2 separate regions of the Homo sapiens genome follow, and region 2 is linked to region 1. Evidence: promoter capture Hi-C in human tissues and cell types (Jung and others, 2019). All regions are on one chromosome and are shown on one strand. The core of a region is centred on a gene start or on the middle of the fragment in contact, and the rest is flanking DNA. Distances in the headings are between cores, read along the strand shown.

The links. Contacts are between HindIII fragments. The study calls those that stand out against the background at their distance.
Region 2: a fragment that was not itself captured here is called in contact with the fragment with the promoter of PDLIM2 in region 1 in 1 of the 25 tissues and cell types used here (hippocampus).

What each region holds. Positions count from the first base shown.
Region 1 is chr8:22,579,225-22,586,178 of GRCh38, forward strand. It overlaps PDLIM2 (PDZ and LIM domain 2), which reads left to right and starts at 1,251. Exons shown (of 9, transcript NM_001368120.1): 1 at 1,251-1,473; 2 at 2,155-2,306; 3 at 5,597-5,666; 4 at 5,793-5,938; 5 at 6,097-6,175. The coding sequence starts at 1,381. RefSeq lists silencers at 38-107, 208-297, 308-467, 1,198-1,287, 2,852-3,146 and enhancers at 2,485-3,177, 5,452-6,121. The HindIII fragment of the contact is 15,508 bases long and covers 1-5,309 here.
Region 2 is chr8:22,520,057-22,527,358 of GRCh38, forward strand. It overlaps PPP3CC (protein phosphatase 3 catalytic subunit gamma), which reads left to right. Exons shown (of 14, transcript NM_005605.5): 7 at 2,435-2,512; 8 at 2,599-2,693. All of the region lies in intron 1 of LOC124901905 (a long non-coding RNA gene), which reads right to left. Among named protein-coding and RNA genes, the nearest start is that of SORBS3, 28 kb to the right of the region's middle. The HindIII fragment of the contact is 6,953 bases long and covers 1-5,438 here.

The DNA of each region.
Region 1 (6,954 bases), core at 1-2,500:
GTGAGCGCGCCCACCTGCGCCTCTCCGCGCGGCCCGCCCTCCCCGGCGCCGGGCTCCTCTCCGCGCCCCTGTCGGCGCGGAACCCTGGCCTCGTCCGCGGCCCAGCTCCCTGGAGCCTCGCATCAGCGGGGGCGCCCCCGCGAGCTGCGCTCTCCCCGGCCGGAGCGCTCCTCCTCCAGCCCCCAGCCCGCAGGGTACTTTGCCCTCGGAGCGAAGGAGGCTCCAGAACTGGTAGAGCCGGGCCATCGGGCTGGGCACCTCCCCGCGGCGCCCGCAGCGCGGAGTCCACTGACCGGCTCAAAGGTCTGGGAATCTCGGGGCGGCCGCGAGCCGGCCTCGGGGACTGGGGTGGGGGCGGTGCTGGGAACAGAGGCTAGGCCTGGGCCCAAGGGGAAGGCAGCCGGGGATGGAGCGGACAGACCGCTGGTGCTCTTGATAGATTCTCGCAGCACTTGCGTCCCCAGGGCAGCCCCAGGATGGGTGCTGGGCAGGGTGGTGCCCAGCCTGGCACCGCGGCTTCCTGCCTGGATTGGCTCCTGGCTCCAGAGCTAGAGGCTCAGGAAATCCCACAGGGGTCTGTCTGCAAGGGCACTTCCTTGCCCAGCGGAGGGGCTGTGGATGGGAGGCCTGTCACCCCGGCTGTCTGTCGGGCAGCATCAGGAATCTGGGGGTGGGTGTGTCCAGCTTGACAGATGAACCCTGGCCTCCTTGCCCTGGCAGCCGGCCCCTGGGGGAGGTGGGGAGCCCGGTCTTGCCCGTGTGATCCACTTTGCCAAGAACGAGGTGGGCAGCTAGGAGGCCCATGTGAAGACTCGGCCTCACCCCACCAGTCCTTCACCTGGCCAGTGACTTACACAGTCTGTACTGGTGCCAGCCTGTTCCTTGACCCGTCACTCCTGCTTCCTGAGCCCTGCTCTCCCTAGGCCACTCACCAGCCCTCCCCCAGAGTGGAGAGGAAGTACCGTGTGCTGTGGGTTTTGGGGACAGGAAGCAAGCGCTAGTGGGACTGAGCCCTGATGGTGGAGGAGGGGAGACTGAGGGGGTGCTGGCATCCCCTCCACTTGCCAGCCCCTGCCCCCCATGCTCCAGCAAGCCCCCTGCCTGGCAGCCTGGGCAGCCCCCTCCTGGGAGTCGCTCCCTGGGCTGAAGACTAAGGAAGGGAGAACCCAGAAGCATGGCTTCCCAGGGTGGGGGGAAGTGAAACCGGGCTGAGGGAGGGAGTTAGCCACTTCCTCTACCCACCCCAAAGCCCCTGAGTAGCTGCTCCGGGAGCTGTGGTGCCCTCTCCTTCTCCCTTTGGCTCCTCTCCTGCTGCCTTACAGTGCCCCCAGAGCCGGCTAGGGGCATGGACTTCACCTCCTGGTCCTCTCTTCCTCAGGTATGGCGTTGACGGTGGATGTGGCCGGGCCAGCGCCCTGGGGCTTCCGTATCACAGGGGGCAGGGATTTCCACACGCCCATCATGGTGACTAAGGTAAGGATGGTGGCTCAAAGAGATGAGAAGGTCCTGCCAGAAGCGAGGTCGGCCCTGTTCACCCCACTCTGCACAGATGGCTTGCTTTTTCTGTTCTGGAGCTAGGGATCTGCTGCTGCCTGGCGTGCTGGCTGTAAGGGAGCCGTGGCCCTTTGCCACGGGGATGTGGTGGCCACTTCAGGAACAGACCTTGGGAGTGAAAGGGAGCTGGGACCAGGACAGGGCCGGCTCTTGCCTCCCCAGTTGCTATCCCCACACTTGCAGGCAGCCATTTGGGGTGATTACTAGAACAAGAGCCCCGGAGTTCTTGGCAGTCTCCTCTTGACCTGGGCCCAGGCTGGGAACATTCACAGGAGGGCTGTGCAGGCAGCCACCTGCAAGGTGCGATTTGCACGGGCAAGGCTCTCTATCCAAAAGTATTTCCAAGCACAGTTCCTGAAATTCTGCCACTGCACATTCTTTGGGAGGCCCATTAGAATGCCAGTGTGGGGTGGGGGCTGCCACCTGCGCTCCTGGAGGGGATGGCTGATCAGCTGGGTGTCATGAGCAGGCAGAGGGACATGCAGGAGGGTGCAGGCCGGCCTGGGTCAAGCCAGCCTCTGTGTTTCTTGGGTAGCAGAGTGGGAAGTCCCTTCTCCAGCTGGGCCACGGTCTGAGCATGCCAGCTCCTCATCCCTACAGGTGGCCGAGCGGGGCAAAGCCAAGGACGCTGACCTCCGGCCTGGAGACATAATCGTGGCCATCAACGGGGAAAGCGCGGAGGGCATGCTGCATGCCGAGGCCCAGAGCAAGATCCGCCAGAGCCCCTCGCCCCTGCGGCTGCAGCTGGACCGGTAGGGCCTCCCGCTCTGCAGAGCCTGTGGCATTCCCCCTCCTCCACCACCCCACGTATTGAGCAGCCCTTGCTCCTGCCCATGGGCTAGAGCTCAGCCCTAAAGCGGCCTTCTTGGGCCCTCTCCACACCTTGGTGAGAAGGTCCTGGGCTCTGCTTCCTGCAGCAGGGTGGGCTGAGGGGTGTTCCCATGCCTGGTTGGGTAAAGGTGGGCGCCAGGCTGGGCGTGCAGTCACAGGCTGGGCAGGGCGAGCTGGCACCAGCCACCTTGAAGCCCGGGTTTGACTGGTTCCCAAGAGTGTGCAGGGCACAGGGCGTGGGCATGAAGTGGGTTGAAGAGGGGAACCTTCTGGGAAAGGTATGCCCGAGGCTGCATCCCCAGGACTCCTGCTTCCAACAGGGCATGGCCTTTGTTTAGTTCCCAGCTGGAAGTGAGGACTTGGGGGGCTCATTCCTCATAGAGGCTGTCTGTTCCTCCCCATCACTGAAGGCAGATGCCCGATCCTGGGTTACTCCTAGGGTTTTGAGCCTATAAGCCAAGGTGGGGCCAGGGTGGGGCCTGGAGGCCAAGCTATAGGGGGAACAGGTGGCTCCCTGGGGTGGGGCATTGCAGTGAGTCACAGATCGGGAATGCCAGGAGATCCCCGAGCCAGGAGAGCCCTCTGCACGGGCCTAGAACCTGAGTCAGACACCTCTTGCATCCTGGCCACCCCCACATTGTCCTGCTCTCTTCAGCCCTACCAAGCCCCTCCTTCTCCAACTGCCCTGCCCTGTGGTGTGGCAGAAGCCGGCTCCCTTCATGTCATTCAGGTCCCTGGGTGTTTGCAGGAGCGGGACCCCAAGAAGGAGGGTAGAGAGCACCTCATGGCATCTGGGAATGGGGCAGAAAGCTACAGGAGGCTGAGGGTCTGGCAGCGGAAGGGCAGGAGCCTCGGACTGTCTCTTCCTCTGGGGTTCTCTGGAGGGACCAGGGCTCGGGGGAGGTAGGCCTGGGCTGTAAGTCAGGCCTCTGGTTCTGCACCAGGCAAGCCCAGACTCCAGTCTCTTAATTTTTTTTTTTTTTTTTTTTTTGAGACAGAGTCTCGCTCTGTTGCCAGGCTGGAGTGCAGTAGCGTGATCTCGGCTCACTGCCACCTCTGCCTCCCGGGTTCAAGAGAGTCTCCTGACTCAGCCTCCTGAGTACCTGGGACTACAGGCGCGTGCCACCACGCCCAGCTAATTTTTGTATTTTTAGTAGAGATGGGGTTTCACCACGTTGGCCAGGATGGTCTCGATCTCCTGACCTCGTGATCCACTTGCCTCAGCCTCCCAAAGTGCTGGGATTACAGGTATTACACCGCGCCCGGCCCAGTCTCCTTACTTTTGCTGACGTGATGCCCACCCCCCCCCCCGCCCCCATCTCCCGCCTCCTACCCTCCCAGGTGACCTCTCTGGTATTCAGAAGCCCTGGGGCAGGAAGCAGGGCTCCAGGCTGGAGCCAGAGACTGAGCTCTCCTCACCCTGATCCCATGGCTCTCCCAGGAAGCGGAGGGTCCTGTTGCCCTACATCTCTAGAGGCAGCCTCACGGCCAGGAATGTGTGGCAAGATGGGACGAGGCAGGCTGTCCCTCAGCCCAGACTTCAGTTACCTCCCATTCAGGGCTCCAGCTGGGTTCCACTTTGGAAGAGGGTACCCAGGGAGCTGGGAGGGCGTGCCCCTCTCGCTGGTGGGGAGCTGGGCCTACTTGTCTGGAAGGAGGCAGGCGGGTCTCGCCCTTTGTTTAACTGGGGAGACCCCTGAGAAAGGGATCAGGAGTGACGCGCTCAAAGGCACCCTGGCCTCCAGTGGGCAGGGTGCACAGCTGGCCCAGTCACCGTGGGCTCTAGAACTTGAGGCAGCTCACTTTCCCTCTCTGGGTTTCAGTTTCTCCATGGGTTAAAATATAAAGGATTATTTCTATGAAATCAGTAATCAGGCCGGGCGCAGTGGCTCACACCTGTAATTTCAGCATTTTGGGAGGCCGAGTCGGGCGGATCACCTGAGGTCAGGAGTTCAAGACCAGCCTGGCCAATACGGCGAAACCCCGTCTCTACTGAAAATACAAAAATTAGCCGGGCATGCTAGTGGGCACCTGTAGTCCCAGCTACCTGGGGGGCTGAGGCAGGGAGAATTGCTTGAACCCAGGAGGTGGAGGTTGCAGTGAGCCGAGATTGCACCACTGCGCTCCAGCCTGGGTGACAGAGCGAGACTCCATCTCAAAAAACAAAAAAATCAGTAATCTTCCCCCAAATCAATCTACAAACCCGAGGCTGAGTGATATCAGTGACAAAGTCCAGGCAAAATAGAAAAAAAAAAAAAAAAAAAAAAAAAAAAAAGGGCAGGATAATGTGAGGACTCTCTAATAAAACTGAATGTTTGAACTTTCTGATGAAGTTATGTACGTTCTACTTTTTAGAACCAAACTATCCTTTCTTTTTTTGGGGTGGGTTTTGCTGTTGTTACTGTCGTTTGAGATGGAGTCTCACTCTGTCGCCCAGCCTGGAGTGCAGTGGTACAATTTTGGCTCACTGTAACCTCTGCCTCCCTGGGTCAAGCAATTCTCCTGCCTCAGCCTCCCAAGTAGCTGGTGTTACAGGCATGCGTCACTATGGCTTGGCTAAATTTTTTTTTTTTTTTTTTTAATTAGAGATGGGGTTTCACCTTGTTGATGACCAGGCTGGTCTGGAACTCCTAACTTCAAGAGATTCACCCTCCTTGGCCTCCCAAAGTGCTGGGATTACAGGCGTGAGCCACCGTGCCCGGCCTTGGTGTTTTTTTGAGACAGAATCTCGCTGTGTTGCCCAGGCTGGAAGGCAGTGGCACAATCACGGCTCACTACAACCTCCATCTCCTGGGCTCAAGCGATCCTCCCACCTCAACCTCCCAAGTAGCTGGGACTACCGGCATGCACCACCATGTGCAGCTACTTAAAAAAAAATTTTAGTAGTCATGAGGTCTTCCTATGTTGCCCAGGCTGGTCTTGAACTCTTGGGCTCAAGTGATCCTCCTGCCTTGGCTTCCCAAAGCGTTGGGATGATAGGCGTGGGTCAATGTGCCTGGCCAACTGTCCTTTCTTTTAAGGAACCATGGTTGTCATTGATGATAGTTGTTTGTCTTGAGTTTGACAAAGTTAAAAGTTGACAACCGGATGTCCAAATTTTCTGTAGCTTTTACTGGTGTTGAGAACTAGATCTGGGAACAGTTTTGGCCTCTTTTGGGGGTTGCAGGGTGCAGGGCCCCTGTGACATTCCCTCCCTCTGTTGCCTTCTCAGGTCTCAGGCTACGTCTCCAGGGCAGACCAATGGGGACAGCTCCTTGGAAGTGCTGGCGACTCGCTTCCAGGTAAGCTGGTGCCCTCCCCTGACAGCCTCAGCACCCTGATCACTGGTGCATGAAAGTGAGGCCCGAGGGCAGGGCGGCCTTGGCGGGGCAGCCCTGCCTTTCCTGACACAGTCACTCTCTCCACAGGGCTCCGTGAGGACATACACTGAGAGTCAGTCCTCCTTAAGGTCCTCCTACTCCAGCCCAACCTCCCTCAGCCCGAGGGCCGGCAGCCCCTTCTCACCACCACCCTCTAGCAGCTCCCTCACTGGAGAGGCAGCCATCAGCCGCAGGTGAGTGTGCCTGTGAGTGGGTACCCTGGTCGCCTGCGCTGCCAGCTCCAGGCTGGCTCCTCTGAGTCTCAGGAGCTCTGCTTGGGAGCCCGGGGCAGCATCCTCCCTGGGCAGGCTGGGGGTGGCCCTGGCACACACTGTCCCTTTCCCACTTTCAGCTTCCAGAGTCTGGCATGTTCCCCGGGCCTCCCCGCTGCTGACCGCCTGTCCTACTCAGGCCGCCCTGGAAGCCGACAGGTGAGGCTCCCTGGGGGAGGACAGGCTGGAGGAACAGAAGCACCTCCCGTTCCTGTGGGTTGCCAGTGCCCCGGGACTGCAGGCGGCCAGGCCCACCTGGGCAGCCATGGCCTCCTTCTCCTGGCCACAGGCATGCTCTGCTCCTGAGCCAGGGAGGCCATGCTTCTGGTCGTGGGCCACCTGTGCTGTGCCCAAGACCTGCCCAGCAGTGCCCAGTAGCCCGTCCATCTCCTGCACCCCTCCCCTCATCCCCCTCCCCTCCCATCCTGCTGACTTCCTCCCTGCCCAGTATGTTTCTCTTGGGCTGTGGCTGAAATAGTTTCGCTGCTGTTGTTGGGATGATTCCCTTTCGTCTCTGGCTGCATCTCTCGAACACATTCCTCCCCATTCCAAGACCCGGGCCTGCCTGACTCCCACCCACACCCTCCCTTCCTCCTCTGACTCAGCCCAGAGATGCCCCAGTGGGACTGCGGTTCTGCCTTGAGCGCTCTTGGCTTATTCTGTCTCCTCCTCCCCCTACCCCCGCCAGCTCCCCTGGACTCTCTTTCAGCCAGGTCCCAGTGGCCCCTGGTGACAGCCTAACCCCCTTCCTGGGTGGTATTTCTCCTCTTCAACGGTGGGGGATGGTGAGGGAGTGAGGCAGCCAACAGCCCTGGGCCGCAGCTGCTGGGGACGGCGTGGGGGGCACGTCCAGCCTTTGGGGTGATGGGGATATGGCCCAGCTGCTGAGCCCTACCTTTGGGTTGATTCTGCATTCCAGAAAGCAGAGCCTTTGGGGG
Region 2 (7,302 bases), core at 712-3,211, 58 kb before region 1:
CTCCTTCATTCTTAAAGGGCAATTTTGATGAGTAAAGTATTCCTGGTTGGCAGGTTTTTTTTTCTTTCTTTTAGTACTTTGAATATATTATCTCCCGCTTTCCTGGCCTGCAAGGTTTCAGCTGAGAAATTCACTGATAGTCTTATAGAAGCTTCCTTGTATATTATATGACAAGTAGGTTTTCTCTTGCTGCTTTCAGATTTTTTCTTTTTGAGTTTTAACAACTTAATTATAATGAGTCTTGGTGTTTAACTTATTTGGAGACCTTTGGGCTTCATGAATTGAAATGTCCCTTTTCCTCCCTAGATTTGTTAAACTGTTAGCCTTTAGTTTTTAAAAATAAGAAGCTTTCTGCCCCTTTTTCTTCTCCTTAACTCCCATATGCCTGTATTATTTTCACTTGATGTTGTCCCATAAGTCCTGTATACTTTCCACATTCTTTTTTATTCTTTTTTCTTTTTGTCCCTCTAATGCTATCATTTCAAATGACCTGTCTTTTAAGTTTCCCAGTTCTTTTCTTCTGCCTGAGTCTGCTGTTGAAGCTGTCTCTTGAGCTTTTCAGTTGAGTCATTGTATTCTTCAGCTCCAGGATTTCTATTTGCTTCTTTTTTATGGTTTCTGTTTCTTTATTAAACATCTCTCTTTATTCATTTATTTGCTTTCCTGATTTTGTTTAGTTGTAGTTCATTGAGCTTCTTTAAGATGATTATTTTGGATTCTTTGTCATGCAATTCATACATCTCTATTTATTTAGGGCCAGTTACTAGAGGTTTATTAGTTTCCTTTGGTGGTGTCATTTTTGCCTGGTTCTTTATAATTCATATAGCCTTGCAATGGAGTCTATGCATTTGAAGGAGCAGGGGCCTTCCAGTTTTTATGGACTCGTTCGCCAAGTAAATACCTTCTCCTATTGAGTCCCTGGGTTGATGGGATTGCCTGTGGTATTGTGATTAAGCAGGGCTGAAGCTAGATTATGGGGCTACATTAGGGTTCACAGTCAGTGGGCGTACCACTAGGGGCATGGACAAGTATGTCCCATGGATGGGGAGAGCTGTCTCTGGAACTCAATAGGGTGGGACCCAAGCTGGGTCCCAGGCTGGTTTGGGTTTATGTTTGGGTCCAATCAGCAGCCCTTTTACCAGAGGAATGGACAGGCATGATTTCCACAAGGCCCCTGTTAAGGCAGGACTTCCTCTTGGCCACAGTAGAGCAGGGCTGGAGCCAGGTCAGAGTGCTGCTTTGAGTCTGCAGTTGGGTCTGGTTGGTGGATCTGTTACTAGGGGCATCAACAGACATGGTTCCTTCCCAGGATGGATGAGGCTGGTGGTAGGACTGCAGACAAGTGGGACTGGAGCCGGGTTTACAAGGGACAGGCTGATTCTGGGTCTGTAGCTGAAAGGTCAGTGGGCCTGCCTTCTCCAAGCAGCCCTTCCTAGTCTTGGGCTCCACCAAGGTTTCATAACCACCTACCTCAATCCTAAGGTTCTTACAATGGCACTTATGGCCATGGATGGCTTCCAAACTATTGTTTCTGTAGGAGGACCAGGGCTGGGGACATTCTCTTTTGCTATCTTGCTTACGTCACCTACAACCTACTTTAAAAGTAAATTTGTTCTAATGAGCATAATGAGAAACAAAGATTTTAAAAATAAACTAAATAATTAATGCCTAAGTAATTCCAGGTTAATTTTGTATACTCCAGTTCTTCCTATCAGGTATTTGTCATTCAGAGAGGTAATAGTATGAAAAGAATATTTTAGGAGTATATGAGAATATTGTATCTTTTTTTAGAATATGGTTGGCTAAAATATTTACATCTGCTCCTAAAATATTCCTGCATAAGCTTGCAGTGAGCCGAGATTGCACCACTGCACTCCAGCCTGGGCGACAGAGCAAGACTCCGTCTCAAAAAAAAAAACAAACCTATATATATACATATATATGTATATATGTATTCCTGCATAATATTATCTTGGTGTTTATATTACCTGTGAAGCTGTAAGTATATTCTTTTATTTCTGTAACAATTTGACAATTGAAGAAAAGTATGTGTTGAATTTTTAGCATCTACTACACACACACGCACACACACACACACACACACACTACTGTTGTACTTTGTAATATCAAGACACTGATAAAAGTTTTGGTGTTGTATTGTTATGGATTAAGACAAAAAAATTAAAAGATGAGATGGAGGAGCTCTTTCTATTGTAGGATTATCTATTGTTTTCATGTTTGATCTGTAGTGAAGTATATTAGTGAAATAGAGAAACAGAATGATGAGTACTAAGCTATTCATAAAATTTCAGTAGTGTGTAATACTTGTAGTTTTGAAACAAAATCAGCTAATATCACCTTGACTTTTCCCCATCTTCCTATTAAAAAAAATTGTTTTAATTCTGGATTTATGTTTTCTAATTTTCTTTTCCAGTTACCCTGCAGTTTGTGAATTTTTGCAGAACAATAATTTACTATCAATTATCAGAGCCCATGAAGCCCAAGATGCTGGGTAAGTTACATTAAAATTGTACCAAATATCGCTGCAGAGTCTTTGCATTTAATATGCAGACAGATGGACTTTCATCTCTTTTTCAGGTATCGAATGTACAGGAAGAGCCAAGCCACAGGCTTTCCATCACTTATTACAATTTTCTCTGCCCCCAATTACCTAGATGTCTATAACAATAAAGGTAAAGGAATCCAGCAATATTTGAGTTTGAATTTATGAGTAAACGTGAGCTCTGGTTTAATTGTATGTACGTATGTGTGTTTGTGTCATTTTAAAACATAAATTTTAAATAAGAAAAAAAGGGGTCTTAGTTGAAACAAAGGCCAAGAAATTTAGAATTTATGCTGCTGCTTGGTCTTTATCTCCTAAGGATTACTGGCTTCTTTGTGAGTATAAATAATGATCATAATAGGTCAGATTGATACTACAGAATCAAAGTATAAGAAGAATAAATTGCTTCAGGCTCATGCCAGAATAGTTAGCATAAATTATTGGTTTTGGTGAATTTAATGTGTTTATAACAGTATCTCAAAGTCACCATTGGTATTTTAATCTTTGTGAATTATTAAACTATTTTTGTTTTTCTTGAGATATGGTCTAGGTAGAGTGACCTAGTGTACAAAGTCAAAAAAAAACCTTCATTTTTAGTTTAAACCCTGCCAGAAACGAATACTGTGACTTTGAGTGAGTCACATTATCTTTCTAATCTTCAGTTTCCCATATGAAAAAAGAAGAATGGATATATACATGCCTTTTGTTCCAGAAATTTTACTTCTAAGACTTTATCCTGTTAAAGTCTTTTTTTTAATTTAAAACTTTTATGATTAATAGTTTATAAGTTTTCTATCGAGGCAGTGGTCCTACTAAAAACTTCATATTTCTGTAACTATTTTGTTGTTTATAAAGTATGACTATAAATTAATAGGACTTTGAAAATAAACATGCCAGAACAAACATATCCAAATGAGTATTGTCCCTTCAAAGTAGTTACCTTGGGAGGCTACACACCTATTCCAACAATGCTGTCCTTGTTCAAAAACATTTTTGGAACTCCTCTTTTGGCATTGCCTTCAGAGTCTGCGACACATTCTTTTGATTATCCTCAATGATGGGAAATCTTCGTCCTTTGAGGGTGGATTTGATTTTTGGACAGCCAAAAGTCATTCGGAGTCAAGACTGATAAATAAGGTGAGTGATCAAGCTAGATGATACCATTTGGGGTCAGAAACAAGGTATGATTATAAGGTAATGAGACTGGTTTTTCTCGTGTTGCTGATACAGTGGCTCTGGAGGCACTTCCAAAAGAGGAGTTCCAAAAACGTTTTGAGTAATGGCAGCATCTCTGGATTAATTATATGGTAAGGCAACAAGTTGTGCTGAAAAGAACACAAAGCAAGGAGTCAGTCTAGTCCTGCTTCACTTTTAAGTGTGTCACATTTAACAAGATACTTCTCTGAGCCTCATCTTTAAAATATCTGTCATATGGGGTTGTTGAAGATAAGTTGGAATAAGGAAAATGGATATTAAAGTGTTGTTCAAAATATAAATTACTATAATAATACAGATTTTACTGTTATTGTACCTGATGTGATAATATCAAAGGACCACACTCATCTGATAAAAAGGTCTGGTGTGTTTGTAGCTGGTGGTTTCTTAAGTCTCATTACTTTATAGTTATACCTTGTATATGCAGTTGGGGAGATAAGTTTCAAAGATGGCCAAAATATAATTAATATTTACTCTATTTAAAAGTAAACCATGGAATGGCACATCTCATTTAAATCCGATTTGGGTCAGTCATTTTAGTGTGTCCTCCAGTGACTTGTCTATTTTAAAAAGCATGTCTTTAACTTAAGTTCTGTCCTAGTCTTATGTTTTCATTTAACTTAGCATTCTTCTCTGAGCCTTATCTGTCCTACAATGCTCTGCTTCTCCCTAAGTTCATTTGTTATTTCCTTTTTCCTGATATTTCCAGTATATTAGCAACTTAGGTTTTATTCTTATTTATTCTCTTATCAATGGTGTGGACTGTTTGTGTTGTTAAACGTCTTCAAGGACTCTTGTGGCCCTAGATCTCCTATTTGTAATGAAGGTGTTTCTTTCTCACTTTCTTTTTTAACTTCATCAAAAAGAGTATCTATTGATTGCTCAATGGATTTATCAGTGTGCCAAGCTGAAACACGCCACCTAAGTCAGCAGGCACTATACAGCTCACTCACTGCTAGCTTGTTTTTTGTCTCAATCTAACCTGGTTTTGTTCTTGATTATTTCTTTAGCAAACTTTTAACATCACAGTCCTGGCCAGGCACAGTGGCTCATGCCTGTAATCTCAGCACTTTGGGAGGCCAAGGGGAGGATCACTTGAGGCCTAGAATTCAAGACCAGCCTGGGCAGCAAAATGTGACCCCATCTTTACAAAGAAAAATTTAAAAGTTAGCCAGGCAAGGTGGAGCATGCCTATAGTCCTAGCTACTCAGGAGGCTGAGGCAGTAGGATCCTTTGAGTCCAGTAGTTCGAGGCTGCAGTGAGCTGTGATCACACCACTGCATTCCAGCCAGGCAATAGAGCAAGACCCTGTCTCTAAAAAATAAAAAAAAAAGTAAAAGCCACAGTTCATTCTACCTGAGTATTCTGTCGGCTTTGACATAATTAGTAACTTTTATCTCAAAACAGTCTTATTTTCATTGGTTGTTTCTTAGGCATTTTAGAAGGAAAAAGGCAGAAAATGTGGCATTTGAAACAGTCCCTGGGGGTACTCAGTTACTCCCCATACAAGTGCCTTCTTTTCTGAAAAAGGGAACTCTATTATTCTTTTTCTTCTTCCTTTTCTTCTACTGTTGCTCTTCTTTCTCTTTCTCTCTTTTCTTTTCTCTCTCTTTCTCTCTCTCTTTCTTTTCTTTCTTTTTCTTTCTGCTTCCTTTTCTTCTTTCTTTCTTTCTTTCTTTCTTTCTTTCTTTCTTTCTTTCTTTCTCTCCCTCTCTCTCTCTCTCTTTCTTTCTCTCTCTCTCTCTTTCTCTCGGTCTCTGTCACTTAGGTTGGAGCACAGTGGCAGGAACTTGATTCACTGCAGCCTCGACTTCCTGGGCTCAAGTGATCCTCCCACCTCAGCCTCCCAACTAGCTGGGACCACAGGTGCATGCCGCTACACCTGGCTAATTTTAAAATATTTTTTATAGAGATAGGGTCTCGTTATGTTGCCCAGACTGGTCTCAAACTCCTGAGCTTAAGCAGTCCTCCTGCCTCGGCCTCCCAAAGTGCTGGTATTACAAGTGTGTGCCACCACACCTGGCCTCTTTCATATTATTTTTTTTTTTTCAGAGACAGAGTCTCACTGTGTTGCCCAGGCTGGAGTGCAGTGGTGCGGTCTTGGCTCACTACAACCTCTGCCTCCCGGGTTCAAGCAATTCTCCCGCCTCAGCCTCCCGAGTAGCTGGGACTACAGGTGCACGTCGCCACGCCTGGCTAATTTTTTTTATTTTAGTAGAGACGGGGTTTTACCATGTTGCCCAGGCTGGTCTCAATCTCCTGAGCTCAGGCAATCTGCCCACCTCGGCCTCCCAAAGTGCTAGGAGTGCTCTTTCATATTCTTTAGACTTCTTGGTATCTACAGGTATTTCCTAGTTCCACTAGTTACACGAAAGACCTTTAATCATGATTTTTAAAGATTCTTATTCTTGTTTTCTTCTGTCCACTGGGAACACACCCAAAAGCAGTTTTATAAGCTCTTGTTTCCAGTCATTCACTGTTGAGACTCACCTCCCACTTCTTTTTCCTGGGTAGAAATTGAGGGAGTTGTTGAATAATGATATATGACATATTTACCTAAACTAAATAAAATACATACACGTGAAAATAATGGAACATGTACATCATAGCCAGTGTTAGGCTTTTTAAGTGCTAGAAACTATATTTTAATTTATTTTCTTAATAATATATGGTGTACATTTTAGACATTCAATAACTTAAATTTTAAGAACACTAGATTATCCTGTAGCAAAGAAACAGGAATGAGGACGTGACCTATATCTGTCATTTCTGGAGAACTGTTACACCCTGTTTTATTTTATGACCACAGAATAATTAAGAGAATAGTGCAAACAACATTGCTGGTGATAAAGGCTAAGGAATTGGATTTTAAGACTTTCAAAATATAAAGAAAATCAGTTTGGCATCAAAGTATGTGTGCGACTATCTGAATGGTTAATATTAAACATAGCATGCTGGCAATACACTGCTGTGTATTGGAGAAATCGGCAATTTTAAAATCCGCTATATTGAATACAGAGATGACTTAATCTAATTTTGAACATTTAATTGTAAATTGCTCCAAGTTTGCCATTTGTATCTTCCAGTATGAGTTGATAACTGCAATATATAAACTCCCAGAGAGTGTATACAATCTTTGACTCTGGCTAATGACTAGCAAAACAGGCTGTGTCCATTTAATGAGTAATTTTTGCCTTCAAAGGAGAGTTGTAATTATAACCATTTGGCCTATAAAAGGAAATTATGGGGAAATTTTCCTCACGTGGATCTTGAGGTTTATATAGATAGTTACTGTGCAGTGACTCCAAAGTTTCAGTTTCTTTTGTACTTTTATTATATGAGCTCTTCAGGTAACTTTGTTCCTTGGAATAATTCTTAAGAGAATGAACTGAATAAAAGGCTTTAAAATTTTCCATCTGCCCTTTACCTAGTCAAGTCCTGACTTTACAAATGGAAAGTTCTCGAATTCTGTGTAGCAGGTACACAGCTGTACAAAGCATACCACTTGCCATGCCATGTTCCTC